Linked DNA regions of Homo sapiens: region 1 is linked to region 2. Evidence: promoter capture Hi-C in 16 types of primary human blood cells and fetal thymus (Javierre and others, 2016). All regions are on one chromosome and are shown on one strand. Each heading gives the region's core, a stretch centred on a gene start or on the middle of the fragment in contact. The rest is flanking DNA. Distances are from core to core; before and after follow the strand shown.

Evidence for each region. Contacts are between HindIII fragments. The CHiCAGO score rates a contact against its expected background, and 5 or more counts as called.
Region 1: a contact is called between a fragment that was not itself captured here and the fragment with the promoter of KRABD2 in region 2, in 2 of 17 cell types (naive CD8 T cells and total CD4 T cells). The highest score is 5.6, in naive CD8 T cells.

What each region holds. Positions count from the first base shown.
Region 1 is chr17:8,947,344-8,950,043 of GRCh38, reverse strand. All of the region lies in intron 1 of PIK3R5 (phosphoinositide-3-kinase regulatory subunit 5), which reads left to right. Among named protein-coding and RNA genes, the nearest start is that of PIK3R5, 17 kb to the left of the region's middle. The HindIII fragment of the contact is 704 bases long and covers 1,074-1,777 here.
Region 2 is chr17:8,375,309-8,378,008 of GRCh38, reverse strand. It overlaps KRABD2 (KRAB domain containing 2), which reads left to right and starts at 1,305. Exons shown (of 2, transcript NM_001304947.3): 1 at 1,305-2,109. RPL26 (ribosomal protein L26) reads left to right here. Exons shown (of 4, transcript NM_000987.5): 4 at 317-493. The coding sequence ends at 445. RefSeq lists a silencer at 1,171-1,370 and an enhancer at 1,115-1,666. The HindIII fragment of the contact is 1,665 bases long and covers 833-2,497 here.

The sequences.
Region 1 (2,700 bases), core at 176-2,675, 570 kb before region 2:
GGCTGCTGGTGGTTCCTGGATCTTTCCCTTAGCATTCACAAACTGTCTTTTAATAATGTATAGAGAATGTTGCCAGGGGACTGGTGGACTCAGACATGTACTTTAAAAAATTCCACTTAAAAAAATTGTTTTTAAATTTTTATTTTCATAGATTTTTGGGGAACAGGTAGTATTTGGTTACGTGAGTAAGTTCTTTAGAGGTGACTTGTGAGATTTTGGTGCAGTGTACGTTGTACCTAATGTGTAGCCTTTTATCCCTCACCCACTTCCCACCTTTCCCCTGCTAAGTCCCCAAAATCCATTGTATCATTCTTATGCCTTTGCATCCGTATAGCTTAGCTCCCACTTATGAGTCAGAACATATGATGTTCGGTTTTCCATTCCTGAGTTACTTCACTTAGAATAATAGTGTCCAATCCTATTCAGGTTGCTGCAAATGCCATTACAGAATTCTCCCTTTCTTTTTCTGTTCCTCACGATGACGACAACATTTTCTAATCTGTCTCTGTCTTTCTCTGTCTCTGTCTCTTATACATCTTTCATTTTCTCTGATTCTTCAAAGATAATCGGTAGCAGCTCCCTTTCACAACCTCAAGTTTCTTTATGACTCTGAGATGCCTTTATTCTCTTCTGCAATCCTAAACTCATTTTCAGCAGCAAGCCTCCCTATTTGGCATCAGATGTTTCAATATCGGACCCTTTCCCCGCAATCTACCTTTCACCCTGTGGCTGGTACAACCTTCCAAATCCAAAAGCTGATGTGTCATTCACCAGCTCGAAATTTAGCAGTGGCTCCACATGGCGCTTGAGTAAACCCTTAAGCACTTAGCTTGGCAGATAAGGCTGTTCACAGTCTACCATGCCAGCCCATGCAGCATCATCTCCCAGCGTGCCCCATGTCATGCCTACCCTTCAGTAGGGCTGAACTGCCAGCATTTCCCTAAAGGAACCATGCTGTCTCCCGCCTCTTGCCTCAGTTTATTTTCCTACCATGAGATTCATGCCTGAATCTCACCCAGGGCAGCTCCTCCTTCCTGAAATGTTATCTCGGGAGTCACCTTTTTGGAGAAGCTTTGCTAATAGACATTCTCCCTCCTCCAAGTTCCTATGGCACCTGTCCCATATTAGCCTCCACTGGGACACCTAACCCACTGGGTAGTTTCTAGTTTGAGAGTTATTTTGGATGGTGCTTCTCTGAACTTCCTGTTGCATGTCCACTGGGCATGTAGCTAGGAGGCATATACCTGGGGCCTGGAGCATGCTGAAGTTGAGCTTTAGGGTCTGATAGAGCATCTTCCACTGGGTATGTTGTCGTACCAGCGTACATTCCCCGCAGCAGCCGTGAGGGTTTGCGTGGCTTCACATCCTCACAACAGTGCTTTTTTTTGCCTTTTTCATTTTGGCCCTTCTGCTGGGTGTGTAGTGGTATTGCCTTGTGGTGGGAATGTGCACTTCCCTTCTGACTAATGAAGCGGAGCACCTCTCCACATGTTTAGTGGCCATTTGGACACCCTCTTCTGTGAAGCGTCTATTCAAGCCTTTTGTCCAGTTTTCTACTGGGTTGTCTTTTTCATATTTTTCTGTTGCTCCTTCACATTGTGTAGTGACCTCTCAATCCTCCTCCTGGCCACGAGCTCTGTGAGATTTCTGGACCCCCAGTGCCTAGTGAAGTCCCTCAAATAGTAGACCCTCAATACATATTTTCTGCTGACTAAATAAAACATCTGTGATTCATGCTTTCCAGTGGGTTAACCATTCTCCTTACAATGGTAAAGCTTATCATGGTAAAGCTTTAGCTCCTACTTATAAGTGGAGGAAAAGATGGAGGCAACATAGGAGCGCATTTCGGCTTTCTCTCATGCGTCGGCCACTGTCTTGAGTTACTGGCCTGATTTCTTCTGGTTTGGACTCTGAAAATAGCTTTACGGGTCCTTTTTGATGTATGCTGCATTTTTCTTTTTCTTTTCTTTTCTTTTCTTTTTTTTTTTTTTTTTTTTTTTTAAGACGGAGTCTCGCTCTGTCGCCCAGGCTGGAGTGCAGTGGCTCAATCTTTGCTCACTGCAAGCTCCGCCTCCCGGGTTCACACCATTCTCTTGCTTCAGCCTCCCAAGTAGCTGGGACTACAGGCGCCCGCCACCACACCTGGCTAATTTTTTGTGTTTTTAGTAGAGATGGGATTTCACCGTGTTAGCCAGGATGGTCTGGATCTCCTGACCTTGTGATCCACCGGCCTCGGCCTCCCAAAGTGCTGGGATTACAGGCATGAGCCACCGCACCCAGCTGCTGTATTTTTCTTAAGGCTTGCTTTCATGATACGCTCATTCTCTCTCTTTCGTATCACCTTAACTTGGGGACCTTGATTCCATCTTGACGTATGCCCCAGGAAGTCACACTGGCTCCTTCACATTTCCGCCTCTTTTCTCCCTTGTGACACTCTCTGACTTGCCTTCAGAGCTTAATTTTCCATTTTCTTTCCCTGTTAAGCCACCCTCTCTGACTTCCAGCCTCTTGTTGTTGTTGTTGTTTTAATAGACTAGATACGCACGGAAACAATTCCCAGCCCCTTGGATAGCTGCTTTCATAAAGTCTATGACTCGCGTCTGACTATGTCTAGCATTTTCTTCCGTGATTACTACAAACCCCAGTCATGGGTCCTTTTCTCCCCATTTTCCTCTCACTGCTATTTCACAAAGCTTTCAT
Region 2 (2,700 bases), core at 56-2,555:
TTGTAAAACTGTAGTGAGAAGAGCAGAATCATATATTTCTCAGTGAAAAAGAAACAAATCTTATAATGAAGCACAGAAGAGGCTTTAAGAATTACTGATACCATCTTGCCTTTTCTCCTTTGTTGGTAGGAAATTAGTAAATAAGCCAGGTTTGATGGCTAAAGAGTGATTTCTGGAGTTTTTTAAAAGTTAAAATCTTTTCTTATTAGGCATCCACCTACCCCAGGTTTGGGAAATGGTATTGAATGTTGGGCTTTCCCTTGTGTTTTAGTGATTATTTAAAGCTTGGGAGTGTTTTTTTCTTATTTTTCTGCAGGTGGTTATCACTAGGCTAAAACTGGACAAAGACCGCAAAAAGATCCTCGAACGGAAAGCCAAATCTCGCCAAGTAGGAAAGGAAAAGGGCAAATACAAGGAAGAAACCATTGAGAAGATGCAGGAATAAAGTAATCTTATATACAAGCTTTGATTAAAACTTGAAACAAAGAGCCTGTGTTTTGTGTGTGGTGATTTAGGACACTCCCTAGTTTTCAGTGGATCAGTCTCTTACCTCTGATTTGTTGGTCTAAAATTTTTCTGAAATCAGGACTGATGAGATTTTTTTTATAGTGGGCAGCAGCATTTGAGGATATATCAGAAGCTGGAGGGGTGTCATTGAGAAGAAGAAGGCCTACAAGAAAAGCTAGTTGGAAACACTTCCTCTTGAACCTGTCTTTTAACTTGCTTACTATGGATAGGTTGCTATATGGACAGGCTATATTTTTTACCTTACTGCGTAAAAGTTTGTATTGCCATTGGATAGGAAGTCTTGCTTTCAATAGGATAAGAAGCTTCTGTGACTTTATAGCTTCTAGATGACTTCTTCAAGCTGTTCCTCCAGATTGAGAGGTCTCGGGTTCAGGTTATCTGATAGACCCATGGGCCCCCTTTACCTTGTTTTCTGCACAAGTGCTGGATGAGTGCCATCAAACCAAAACCTAACACGTCTTTGAGTTAAAATATAAACTAAACTGCAGCTTCGTCAGGATGAAGTGAAAAGGTGTGAGGTGGCAGCAGTGTGTGTGCTCCTGCCGTTCCTCATTTTAAGCATCTAAACAGGACACCTGAAGCCCGTTTACTTTCCAGGCTGGAGACTTGGCAACAACGTGGGAATGGGGAACGGGCCCGAGTTAAGTCACTGGCTTAGCCAAGGTCACAGCTGGCATCTGGGTGAACAGCGCTGCACGGTGTCCGCGGTGCCTCTAGGGGGCGGGGCTTCCGGCTGGCGCTGACCGGCTTCCGGCGGAGCGGGCGGGAGGTGGGGCGGAGTTGCTGCTCGGGGGCCTCTGGGTGGAGGGGGATTCAGACGCCGCGTCTGGTGTGTCCCTTTCTCCTTCCTGACCTTCCTCAGTCTGCAGCTCTTTTCTCCACCGCGCGCCCGCCTCAGCCGTTCAGCCCTGAGCTGGCGGGTGGACGGGCATGGATCCAGGCGGTGGGAGCAGTCTGCGAAGTCAGGGTAGGAAGGCTACACAAAGGAGGCGACATCCCAGCCCGGTCCTCAGGAATAAGCGGGCGTGCCCGTGTGGTGTGGACGGTGAGGGGACACTGTATTAAGTGCCTTATCTGCATTATCATTGAATCTTCATAGCAATCGATTGTGATGGGTACTGGTCATCTCCCCGGGTTGTAGATGAGGAAACTGAGGCCTCAGTAACTTTGCTTTAGTCAGTAAATGATAAGAGTCAGCAAATGAATTCCCAAGCGTAGACTCGGCCGTACCGCTGCTCTACCTTGCTAATAACGACCTACCTGTAAGCGACATTTTTGACAAAATGTCCTTTAAACATCTTTTGTGCTCAGCTCTGTATTCGTGGGCCCTCCAAAGGGGGTACAGGCAGGTAGAAGCCTCCGTCCCTACCTTATAGGTTGTATATATCTGAACTGGTCGACTAAAGATGCAAAGCGAAGTGCTCCAGTGAGTGTGGTACAGGTTGTTGAGATGAAGGAGAGATGGCAATCAGCTAAAGTTACTGAATACGTCAGGAAGGAGGCTGGTTTCAGCTGGCTGTGATTGGGAGGATCAATGCGAGGACATTCCGAGTCGGAAACAGCCAAGGCGAAGACTCACAGGTGGGTGAAGGGAGTAAACATGGCTTTGGAAATATTTCCAGTTTTCTCTGACCAACTCGTTTATCACCTAGCCGTCACATAGATCACACCAAGAAGCTGATTGATTTACGGTCACATTTCTTTCATGTTGCTTTGGAAAAGATACTGAAGCCTCGGGCAACATAATGAGACCCCGTCTCTACAAAAAAAAAAAAAAAAGAAAGAAAAGAAAAAATTAGCTGGGTCTGGTGACGCATGCCTGTAGTCCCAGCTACTTGGGAGGCTGCGGTAGGAGGATGCCTTGACCCTGGGAGCCGTGATCATGCCACTGTACTCTAGCCTGGGTGACAAAGTGAGACCCTACCCTCTCAAAAAAAAAAAAAATGAAAGAAAAAAGATATTGAAAGCTTAGAAATGTGCAGGAGTGGGCAAGTAAGATGAATAGGTTAGTAGGTCCCGACGTCCTGGGCTGCGTGCAGCCCACAGGCCACAGGTTGGACAAGCTTGATCCAAAGGAAGATGCCGCCTCTCCATCACAGCCAGTTATTGCCAGGCAGCAATGCCGCCAGTGCAGCCAGAATGTTGCCTTTTCAAGAAAGCCAGAAATCGAGG